Linked DNA regions of Homo sapiens: all the other regions are linked to region 2. The links are contacts of gene promoters, found by promoter capture Hi-C in blood cells and fetal thymus (Javierre and others, 2016). All regions are on one chromosome and are shown on one strand. Each heading gives the region's core, a stretch centred on a gene start or on the middle of the fragment in contact. The rest is flanking DNA. Distances are from core to core; before and after follow the strand shown.

Evidence for each region. Contacts are between HindIII fragments. The CHiCAGO score rates a contact against its expected background, and 5 or more counts as called.
Region 1: a contact is called between a fragment that was not itself captured here and the fragment with the promoter of PET117 in region 2, in 7 of 17 cell types (activated CD4 T cells, total B cells, monocytes and 4 more). The highest score is 9.6, in activated CD4 T cells.
Region 3: a fragment that was not itself captured here is called in contact with the fragment with the promoter of PET117 in region 2 in 1 of 17 cell types (activated CD4 T cells); the score reaches 6.3 in activated CD4 T cells.
Region 4: a fragment that was not itself captured here is called in contact with the fragment with the promoter of PET117 in region 2 in 1 of 17 cell types (total B cells); the score reaches 5.7 in total B cells.

Annotation. Positions count from the first base shown.
Region 1 is chr20:17,505,402-17,508,256 of GRCh38, reverse strand. The region is part of intron 5 of BFSP1 (beaded filament structural protein 1); the gene reads left to right. Among named protein-coding and RNA genes, the nearest start is that of BFSP1, 25 kb to the left of the region's middle. The HindIII fragment of the contact is 2,881 bases long and covers 1-2,809 here.
Region 2 is chr20:18,136,502-18,139,201 of GRCh38, reverse strand. It overlaps PET117 (PET117 cytochrome c oxidase chaperone), which reads right to left and starts at 1,339. Exons shown (of 2, transcript NM_001164811.2): 1 at 1,151-1,339. The coding sequence starts at 1,246. KAT14 (lysine acetyltransferase 14) reads right to left here and starts at 1,339. Exons shown (of 11, transcript NM_001392073.1): 1 at 1,151-1,339. RefSeq lists a silencer at 851-970. The HindIII fragment of the contact is 825 bases long and covers 855-1,679 here.
Region 3 is chr20:17,550,972-17,553,755 of GRCh38, reverse strand. It overlaps a transcript of BFSP1 not described here. Among named protein-coding and RNA genes, the nearest start is that of DSTN, 18 kb to the left of the region's middle. The HindIII fragment of the contact is 3,996 bases long and covers 1-2,784 here.
Region 4 is chr20:17,522,407-17,525,244 of GRCh38, reverse strand. BFSP1 (beaded filament structural protein 1) reads left to right here. Exons shown (of 8, transcript NM_001195.5): 2 at 337-397. Among named protein-coding and RNA genes, the nearest start is that of BFSP1, 7.6 kb to the left of the region's middle. The HindIII fragment of the contact is 1,405 bases long and covers 624-2,028 here.

The sequences.
Region 1 (2,855 bases), core at 120-2,619, 630 kb after region 2:
TCTTCTTTGTTCCTTCCGGTTCTCTCTCTTTCTCATTACCCTACAGCAGGTCATTCCACAGGGACGCTTGGGTTAAAATACTGCACCTTTGTATGGCTCTCTAACCACATTTCCCAAACCAAAAAGTAAGTTGACATTTGGTTTGACAAGTACACATGGGGACAAGAGAGCAAAACGTGTAAAAATCGGACACTTCAGAAAGCCTGGACCATTTGGATGTTATGTGTTACTCTGTCTAAAAATGTGAAGCCACAACTAGATGTAGCGCTTTTTATTGATTTCCAGTGCCCCCATGTCTGCTCAGGATTTCATTTTGGGACCTTGGAGTTCACATCCTAATTCCCATCCCAGCACGCACCACACAAAACTCACAGTGCAGCAGCTCTCAGGGGCTGCTGGAAAGCAAACCCGGGTCTGTGGTGGTCCCCTGAACTGACGATCGCAGCAGGAGGAACCAAGTAAGGCACTTAAAACTCCTCCTTCTTGTGAGACAAACCCTGGCTCAGGGACCATGTGCCTCATCCTGGTGACTGGGGCCTGTGTGGTTTCTTCTGAGGCTCTGACAGGATAGAATAAGGGTTGTATGTGTTTGTGTACATGGGGTGTGTGTGTGTGATATACATGGTATGTGTGATATATGTGGGATGTGTATGTGAAGTGTGTGTGGTGTGTGTGTGTCATGTGTATGTGTGTGTGCTGTGTATGTGAATAGGGACGTGGATACAAGCCCAGTCGTGGTCCTAGAGACCAGTGTTTTCCAAATGGCTAGTGACAACTCATTTTTGGATGTAAAATGAACTCAGTAGAATTGACTGGCATGTAAAAGGAAGTCAACAAAATGCTAGACTAAAATATAATAAGAAAAACAGAGTGTACAGCAAGTGAAAGGGAGGATTTGTTTTGTGAAGCCCTTGTTTTATCTCTCTATATCCATATGGATATGTTGAAATACACACACACACACACACACACACACACACACACCTACCTATCTGATGTGTATGGCTCGCAATGAGAAATGTGGTTTTTCCTGGGGCGGTGGTGATAAAGTTGAAAACCACTGCCCTAGAGATACTGAGAAAGATGAAGGAGCCCAGCCTAGATGGCAAATTCCAGTTCCAGGACAAAAAGAATGTTCCTCTCTTTATGTACAGGTATTTGTTGAATATCAAAATAAGAAATTTCACAACAGATTAACCTGGTTTCTGAGAACATGAAATGAAACCGCTGGTTGGCCGCCTGTTTCTGTCCTGAGTGGCTGCAGGAGGACTTCCTGGCTTTTCCCTGCTGCCCTCGTCTCTAAAGCAGGGTCTCAAACATCTCTTCTGTGCTGCCTCCTCCACTCCCACCCGTGGCATTCTGATGGAGACCGCTTCTCAGAAAAATGATGGTAAAGGCATAAAATAAAATACAGATAATTTAAAGGAAACCAGGCTGGGTGTGGTGGCTCACGCCTGTAATGCCAGCACTTTGGGAGGGCAAGGTGAGTGGACTGCTCGAGTCCAGGAATTTGAGACCAGCCTGGGCCACATGACGAAACCCCACCTCTACAAAAAATACAAAAATTAGCTGGGCGTGGTGGTGCGTGCCTGTGGTTCCAGCTACTTAGGAAGCTGACATGGGAGGACTGCCTGAGCCTGGAGAGGTTGAGGCTGCAGTGAGCTGAGACTGAGCCACTGCACTCCAGCCTGGGCAACAGAATGAGACCCCGTTTCCAAAAAAAAAAAAAAAGAAACTAATTATATTAAAACAGTTATCAAAATATTACTGAATCATTTTAAATAAAATGACAGATGTGCTTATACTCACTCAGTAACAAGCTATAGCATGTAGCTGATGAAACACGGCTGTGTCCATTTTCTGTTGCTGCCTTGATGAGTCACCACCAGCACCCGTGTCATCGCAGTTGTGTAGGTGGGAAGTCTGGGTGGGTCCTATCGGTTTCTCTGCTCTGGGTCTCAAAAGGTAGAAAGAAAGATGTTGGCCAGCCTGGGCCCTTGTCCAGAGGCTGTTAGGGGAGAATTTGCTTCCAGTCTCATTCAAGTTCTTGGCAGGAGTGAGGACCCTGTTTCTTTGCCGGCTGCTGGCCAGGAGTGGCTGTCAGGGCTGCCCAGGCTCCTTGGCTTCAGGCCCCTCCACGTTCGGAGCCGGCAGCGAACTCTGAACCCTCTTCCTGCGTCTCATCTCAATGACTTGGACTTACACGTTTCTCTGACTTCTGTTTTTAGGGGATAATCTTGAATAAACTCCTTTCCTTAAAAAAGGGTAACTGATTAAGAACTTTAATTATATCTGCAAAGTCCCTTTTTGCCATGTAACATATTCAAGGGTGTAGCACCAAGGGGAAAAGGTCACGGGGGCCAAAATTCTGCCTCCTTAGCTCTGATGAAAACCCAGACGTGGCTGGGTGCGCCCGGGAGCTCCTGACTCAGTGGGTCTGGGGTGTGGCCCGGGATGCTGCATGTCTAGGTGTCCCTGTGATGGTGCTGCGGCTGGTCCAGGAGCCACACTGAGAACCACAGGGTAAGGGCGGGTCCCAGGGAGTGGGCGAATGTTCCACCTGGTCCCCCTGTGTCCCAGGCTTGGGCCTCATTTCAAATGTTTGTGGCTGGGTTTTTGCTGGTTTTAAAGGTTTTAGTGGCTTCCCAATGTAGCAGCTAAGCTAGAGCTGAAGGAAGATGTGGCCGCACACCGCCGGGCAGGGCCCGCTCTGTGGCCGGAACTCGGTGGAGGGCGGGCCGAGAGAGAGCGTCTGCTAGCACCAGGGCCGTGGCAGCGGGTTCCGCCTATGGTTAGGGCGTCCGAAGCTTCCCGAACTCTCCACAGCAGGGGTCGTCAGGGTGAGGTCCCCGTCC
Region 2 (2,700 bases), core at 90-2,589:
TGTGCCCTTTCATTGTTAAGTCATCTCAACCCCTCGTCAAAATTCTTGTACCATCACATGCTTCCTCTCTTCTAATTTCCACAGTCTGTGAACACCAAGAACAAAGACCTCATCCACTTCATCTCTGTATATCAAGCACATAGCACAGTCCAAAGGTCTGGGTAGGCAAATCAAGAAAAGACTGTTTACTCTTGATTCATCCAGTCCATTATTTTCACCCTTGGTGAACTAGGTTCAACCCCAATCACTGCCAAGTTGTTTTCTGAAAATTCACCAATGACCCTGTTCTCAGCAAGGTCGTGAATCACTGATAGACTCTGGAAGAGTGGAGTTTCCTTATCTTTGTATTCCCAAGGTGCTTAGTGAGGTAGCTTCCACACAGTAATCACCCATTAAAGGTCTGTCAACTTGAATAAGAAAGAAAATATGAACTGAGAGGACAGAATAGTCACTGCTGATCAGCAGGTCACGGATATTTCCTGAAATAAAAGTACCAAAAAAAAAAATCTGGAGACTGTTATCTCTATCGTTCCCAGATTCTAGTTTCCATAGCAAACTGTTCATTTAAACGAGAAGTGCAAACATCTCACCAAATTATCTTGGTCAAAGGCATGGAGAGTGAGTACGGGGAAGGGGGGCTCCCTTACCATGGGATAAAATCAATAGCACGTAAAACACATTAGGCTTTAACCCCAACCTTGGGCCAGGAGGGAGGCTGGTAGCTTGCAGAATGCACCCCAAGAAACTCCTTCCCCACCTTCTATTTTCTAGCGGCCCAAGTGAGATGTGGAAAGGTCCGCACCCTGCGGGCCGGCTGTGACTTGAAAACAGAGCCACTGGGCACCCCAAAAGCTTGCGTGCCGTGCCTGTGCGGAGCAAGGCCCCTTCAGCGCGGAGCTCCAAAGGCGCTAAGCCGGGCAGCCGGGTCGTCCTGAATCTGCGGGCTGCACACGCCCGCCGGGAGCTGCAGCGCCCGGAGCCCAGCAGAGCGGCCGCCGGCCGCAGCCGCAAACGCGTGGGGTGCAGGGCCGCGCCACCGCGGGGGAAAGACACGAAGAGGAGCTGAGGAACCGAGCGGGCAGAGACCACGAGAGGCCCCAGGTCGACGCCGCGCGCGCGGGCCCGGAAGAGACGGTCACGTGACACCGACCTGCTGGTCCCACTGCTGCTTCACATGTACGCCGGCCACTGTGGCCGCCGTCAGCAGCACCGAGAGGCCCAGCACCACCTTCGAGCTCCTAGACATCCCCACGCTGGCGGCCGCGGCCTCTCTCTCCCGCCCGCCCGAGGCGCAGAGGCCGCCGCAGAGTGCGCACCGCCGCCTGTACTGCCCAGGCTCGACCCCTCGAGCGCAGAGCCCCAGCCGTCGCGTGCGCCGCTCGCCGCTGCCAGGCGTGAGCAATCGAGAGCCGAGCATAGAGCGGCGCCCAGGCTCTACGAACTCTTGGCTTCACTAGGGGCCTCCTGCACACCCCGCAGGCGACAGCGTTAGACCACCCCCGATTCAAATTCTAGGAGTCCCGGCCCAAACTGGCCCCGGCACCTTACCAGGGTGGAGGGTGGGGGTTCCATGCCCCTCAGTCAGTTCAGTACCAACCTCACCCCGGGCGGGGTCTGGATACCGTGCTGACCCCTCTCCCACAGACGTCCCTTCTGAGCCCCTGACTGATCCAGAAGCTTCGCCCAATACCGGCTTCGCCTAAACGCAGCCCCCTCATTGCTCCTTTGGCGGGGCAGGCGCCACCAGGAGACCGCCTCGTTAGGCAGCTTCAGAGGCGCGGGGTTCCCATCCGTGGAGTTTTTGCCTGAGGACCCATTATTAAACGCTGTAGTCGCGGTCACCTGGTTTCACCTTGACGCTGTGGGGCGACTGGTCAGGCTCGGATTATTATTATTATTATTATTATAATTTTGATACAGAGTCTCTGTCTATCGCCCAGGCTGGAGTGCAGTGGCGCGATCTCGGCTCACTGCAACCTTACCGGATTCAAGCGATTCTCCTGCCTCAGCCTCCCGAGAGGATTACAGGCGTGAGCCACCGCGCCTGGCCCCATGTAATCTTTGTGATCACTTTTACACCCAAGTTTCCGCGCCAGTAATACAAGGGAAATAAATGATATAAAGAAGTCTTGCGTTGGGAATAGTTAAGCAATTGTGCAAGACGCATTTTCACTTCTTCCTCGGGTAAAAAAGGCAAGGCCTCCCAGAAACTTTTAAGTATCTGATAGAGCAACCAGTGAAAACGTGTTCATCATTCAATCATTCTTTCCCACTAGAATTCACAGAGAACGAGCTTCTTCCGGTGGACACGGCTATAGGCAGTATTGATTAAGCCTCACCAGGGAGTTTTACAACATTCATTACTGTTCATAGTGCTTTGCTATTCCAGTCTCTTATGTGAGCGTAAATGGCATAAGGGGACTATTGCTCTTAAAGGTATCTTTAAAGATACCTTTTCCAAATGTCATTTTGTCCACAGCATTTTTTGCAGCCTAGAGAGAATGTACCACTGAATTGGAAAATGGAGTTCTTGCTGTAATGAACTTTGAGAAGAAATTCAGTTCAGGGTGTATTTGCATATTTCTCTTTAAAAATTATATTAGACTTCTTTTTATTCGTGGTATATCCTAGATATTTTCCCCTGTAAATCAGTGAGCCTTCAACAGAGCTGTATGTCCTTAGAGTGTACATCAGGGAATT
Region 3 (2,784 bases), core at 278-2,777, 590 kb after region 2:
CTTTTCAAAGATCCCAATTCTAACTGGTATAAGATGAGCTCTCTACTAATAAATCCGAAAGGCCTTGATGATCACCTTATCTAAAGTAGTTTGCCACCCCACTTGCCTCCACTGTCTATCCTCTTTCTGTTCTGTATGATTTTTGAAGCACTTATCAGCAACTGACACACTGTATATTTGTTTAGTTGTTTACTGTCTCTTTAACCCTAATAGAATATCTGCTCCATAAGTATAGGTACTTTGTTTTCTTCATCACTGAATTGCCAATGAATTTTTCGAATGTCACTTGGCACATAGATGATAAACACTAAATATTTGTTGAAGTTGTTGATTGAAGTAATTGTTCTTTCATTGAGGATTTTTGTTTTTGTTTTTTTGTCTACCCTGTGAATTTTATTCCATGGATTTTAGTTGTTCTTGTTGAGTTTGGCATTTCATCCTCATAGTTTCTTCCCCACCACTTTCCTGAAACTGCTTTTACTCATATGACCATGGAACGTCACATTGCTAAATCCAATGGCCAATTCTTAGTCCTCATCTCATACAACATAGTCAGTCATATCTTCTCTTCACTTTGAAACACTTTACTTACTTGGCTTCCGGAATCCCACACACTCTTCCTGATTTTCCACCTACCTATCTGGTCCTTTTCAGGCTCCTTTGCTGGTTCCTCTTCATCTCCTAACCGCTGATCTCCAGAGTCCCCATGCATACTAAGTTCTTAGACTTCTTCTCTTTACTCTCTGCACTAATTCCCTTAGTTTTCTGATTCAGTTTCATGACTTTAAATATCTTCTCTCTGCTGTTGGTTCCCAAATTTATGTCTGTCCTTGACCTCTCTCCAGATTTCTGACTTGTAGATGCAACTGTCTATTCAACACTTGCCCTTGGATGTTTCATAGACATCTCAACTTCTCATAATTAAAACAGAAATCTTGATATTTTTCCCCCAAATCTGCTTCACTTCCAGTCTTCCCCATCTTGTAAATGTCAATTTCATCCTTCCAGCTTCAGATTTTATCCTTGTCTCTTCTCTTTCACATCCCACATCAGTACATTCTGTTGGTTCTACCCTCAAAATATATATAGAATTCTATCACTCCTCATTACCTCCATTGCTATCACCCTGGTCTAACTCACCATCACCTCTAAACTGGATTACTGCAATGGTCTCTTGGCTGGTCTCTCTGCTTCTGCTATTCTCAGCACAGCCATGAAAGCCATGCTGTTAAGTTGTAGGTCAGTTTATGCCACTTCCTTGCCAAAATTATCAAAGGCTTCCCTTTACTCTCACAGTGAAGCCAAATCCTTATGGAGGATTTGTAGAAATCCCGTGGGATCTGTCCTCTCGTTGCCCTTCCTGACCTCATCTGACCCGCACTCTATCCTCACCTGCCCCACTCTTGCCATGATGGCCTCTGCACCCTTCCTTGAACAAACCAGGCACATCCTATTATATTTATTCTTCCCCATGTTTAGAACGCTCTTTCTTCAAGAATCCAAATGGCTTTCCCATCACTTCCTTCCGTTCTCTACTCAGATGTAACCTCCTCAGTGAGGTCTTCTCTGACCACCCTGTCTAAAATTACCAGATGCCCCACCATCCTCCCAGTTCCCTTTTCTTTATTTTTCTCTGTAACACTTATCACCACTTATTATACTCTATTTTTCACTTATTTATCTTATTTACTTTCTGTTTTCTCCAATTGAATATAAGCTCCACAAGAACAGGGATCAGGGATTTTTATTTTCTTCTTTTTTTTTCTTTTTGAGAGAGAGTCTTGCTGTTGTCGCCTAGGCTGGAGTGCAATGGTGTGATCTCGGCTCACTGCAACCTCTGCCTCCTGGGTTCAAACAATTCTCCTGCCTCAGCCTCCTGAATAGCTGGGATTACAGGTGCCCGCCACCATGCCCAGCTAATGTTTTTGTATTTTTAGTAGAGACGAGGTTTCACCATGTTGGTCAGGCTGGTCTTGAACTCCTGACCTCAGGTGATCCACCCGCCTCTGCCTCTCAAAGTGCTGGGATTACAGGTGTGAGCCGTCACACCCAGCCTTATTTTATTTTTTTCACTTCTGTATCCCAAGGCCCAGAAGAGTGTTGGCACAGGGTAGGTTGTCAATACATATTTGTTGAATAAATACATGAATAAGATTGGTGGTGTAGATGTACAAGTGATTTCAGGTACAGATGTGATACCTAAGGGTAGCAGCCATCTGTGAGCTTGAGCACTGATATAGTTTGGATGTTGTCACCTCTAAATTTCAAGTTGAATTGTAATCCCCAATGTTAGAAGAGGGGCCTGGTGGGAGGTGATTGGATCGTGGGTGTGGATCACTCATAAACGGCTTAGCGCCTTCTCCCTGGTGCTGTCTTTGTGACAGTGAGTGAACTCTTGAGAGATCTGGTCATTTAAAAGTGTGTGGCACCTCTCTGCCTTCCTCCCACTCTCACTGTGTGACCAGACAGCTCCCCCTTTGCCTTCTACCATGAGTAAAAACTCCCTGAGGCCTCCTCAGAAGCCGAGCAGATGCTGGTGCCATGCTTCCTGTACAGCCTGCAGAACCGTGAGCCAACTAAACTTCTTTTCTTTATAAATTACCCAGTCTAAGGTATTTATAGCAATGCAAGTATGGCCTAATACAGGCACTAAGCCACATACTAAAGCCAGCAGAGTGAAGAGTTGGAATGAACCTGGGACTGAAGGCTCCACCACACTCGCCCTGAACTGCCTACCTCTGGACTGCATGTCATCATGTTAGGGAAGCAGGAGCATAGGAGAGC
Region 4 (2,838 bases), core at 77-2,576, 610 kb after region 2:
GCACTTGGGTTATAGATAGGCTAGGATATAATTCCCTCATCCTTGGGGTGGCTGGGAATAAGGCTGTAGGGGCTGGGGTTGGTGCCTTCGGGCTGGGAGACTCCTATTCCGCTAACTGCCCCTGGTTACCCCACGCGGTGTGCAAATGGTACCACTTTCTGATTGGGAGGCAGTCAGCTAGGAAATGCAGCATTCGTTAGCTACTACTTTAAAATTAAGACCCTCTCCTTAAAGGAGAGGGCATCGTACCCAGGTTGAATTTAATGCTGATTATGTGATCCATACATGTGAAAGCATGGTAGTTACCCAACTCTCACTTATGTGTCCAATTTGCAGGTATGAAAATGAGTGCGAATGTCAACTCCTGCTAAAAGAAATGCTTGAACGGCTTAACAAGGTGAGCGGAACACATCCTTGGGTTTACGTAGCTTAATTACAGTGTTGAATGGAATGGTGGAAGTGCAGGTTTTACAGGCTTCCTCTTTGTGTTACTTTGGCGGTCACTACTTCTTTTGCAGTCACTCTGTCTCTTGACTTGTTAATTTCAATTGAGTCTTTATGAGTGAACTCACACACCCATACACACACCCCTCTCTCACGAGAGAAACACAGACTATGAAGCTTGTTGGTTATGCTAGGCTAGCAAAACCTGCCGGCGTTACAGTGACAAGCTGCTGTTTTACTTGTCAGACATACTGATGCCCAACACCAAATTTAGGAAGGACCTTGCTTTGGGCAGTGGTTATTTGGACACAGTGATACCTCTGTCCTATTGGCTAAGAGTTTTGAGATTGCGGCTCCACAGAAGTCTCAAGATAACAGAGGAAGAAATTTCTATTTCCTCTAGAGTTCCCTCTTATAGCGTGACCAATAGCCCCAGGGGAGATGCCAGGGGTTCTTAGCCACTTGACTTTCCTGCAGGGTTATGTGGAGTTGCTCTTTACAGAACAGTGGTGATTTCCTTCTTGGGATTCTTCATCATGATTCTAACTAACTGATTGGATTTTCTGCTTTTGCTGGGAGAATCCCACCACCAAAAAGCAGAATGATTCTGGACCACCAGGGTTGTACAGAACCAGGGATGGCACATAGCTTTAAGCATGGCCCTTTTCTGATCGTTTTTGAGCTCCAATGTCAGAGCAGAACGACCCATGGAGACTATTTAGTGGAAAGGCTGCTTGATTAGGGCACATGGGCTGCCCTTCCCCGCCCCTTCCATGCCTACAACTCATCAAAATTGCTGACAAAACCGCAGACTCTTCCCTGCCATGCCCAGGTATGCTTTAGGCTTCTTTGCCACATGGAACTCCAAGCAGCCTCTTTGGACAGTCAGGGTTAGCGCCGGATGTTTGCCATCCCTTCACTTTGTCCAGCCTTTGCTGTCTAGGATTACTCTGCTGGTTGAGGGGAAAATCAGAACTAGAATCTAGGGGAAACCCAATTTTGCTTTGTCTATGTTACCTGCCCCTCTGCGCGTGAGCACGTATGATATGTTCAAACCAGGACAGTGTGCAAAAGAGGGTGCAGTTTGTAATAACACAGGTCAGTCAATGCAGGCTGGGACTCTCAGGACAGCTAGTAGGACACTTGGGCACCCTAGATAGAAACACAGAGATGGCAGTGAGAATGCACTTCAGGAAGGCCCTGAGGACACACGCTCAATAGTTGGCTTGGAAAACGATGGCCTCGAGCCTGTTGGACATCTGAGCTGGGAGTTGGGCCTTATTAGTGTCTGACATCACTCTGCTATTCTGCTGACACCTGTAGCTCATCCCCATTCTTCTGTTTTGTGCAACCTCAGACTGCCAGAACATGGCCTTCAGACACGGGGACCCAGCACCCTTCACAGCACCCCTCAGGCCCTCCGAGGCCCTCTCCCCAACACTTCCACATGTTGCTTTGTGAGCATCTGTCCTCACTTGTCACTCACGCAGTGCCATCCTGGGTACTCTTCAAATAAAGGGGAGAAAGAATGGGGTTCCTCTTTTACCCTTGATGGAAAATGACAGTGAATTTAAAAAACAAGCTTAAACTTTCTGTTGTTTTTCTCTTTTTACAAAAGCAATCCATATTCTCAGTAGAAAAAATAAGGCAACATAGATAACGAAAAATAAGGAAAAGGCATCGCATAATACACCTTCATGTATATTGTGACATAGAGTGTGGACATTTGAAGTATCAGCCCTGTAAGAATATTATGAAGGTTCTGGGGAAAGATGCTACCAAGAATGTGGGTGAGACCAGCACAGGCAATTAGCATGACTGGCCCCTGGGTCCAAGTAAGACAGTACTGCCCGCAGGTGAGCTGCAGAGCCCCAGCGAGGAGTGTAGCCTGTGACTAGGAACCTCCTGCTACAGCTGAGCATCTGTGAGACTGTGGGCCAATTGCCTTGTCCCTCTGAGCCTCGGTTTTTTCATCTGTGAAATGGAATCACAATACTCCCCACCCACCATAGGAGTGAAAGTGCCTAGTGAGAACTAAATGATGTAATAATGTATATGACTTGCCCATCACCTGGTGGTGCTGAATCCCTGATCACTGTTATTACTACAGAGCACTTGATGTGACAGACACCAGCTTGGTTTTCTCCACAGTGTGGGTGCAGAACCCTGTTGAAATGGGAGGTGACTTTAGAAAGTGCATGGAGGAGTGATATTTAATAGTTGTGAATTTTTTATGATTACCTGTTATTTACAGCGGATGACATAAAATATTCCTTTCCAAATAAACCTACGTAAGAATGAGTACCTTTAAAGACAAATACAGAGTGAATAAGATGCAGGTGGTCCTTGGATAATAGTAGAAATCATAAACACAGCAGGCAGATGCAGGACGCT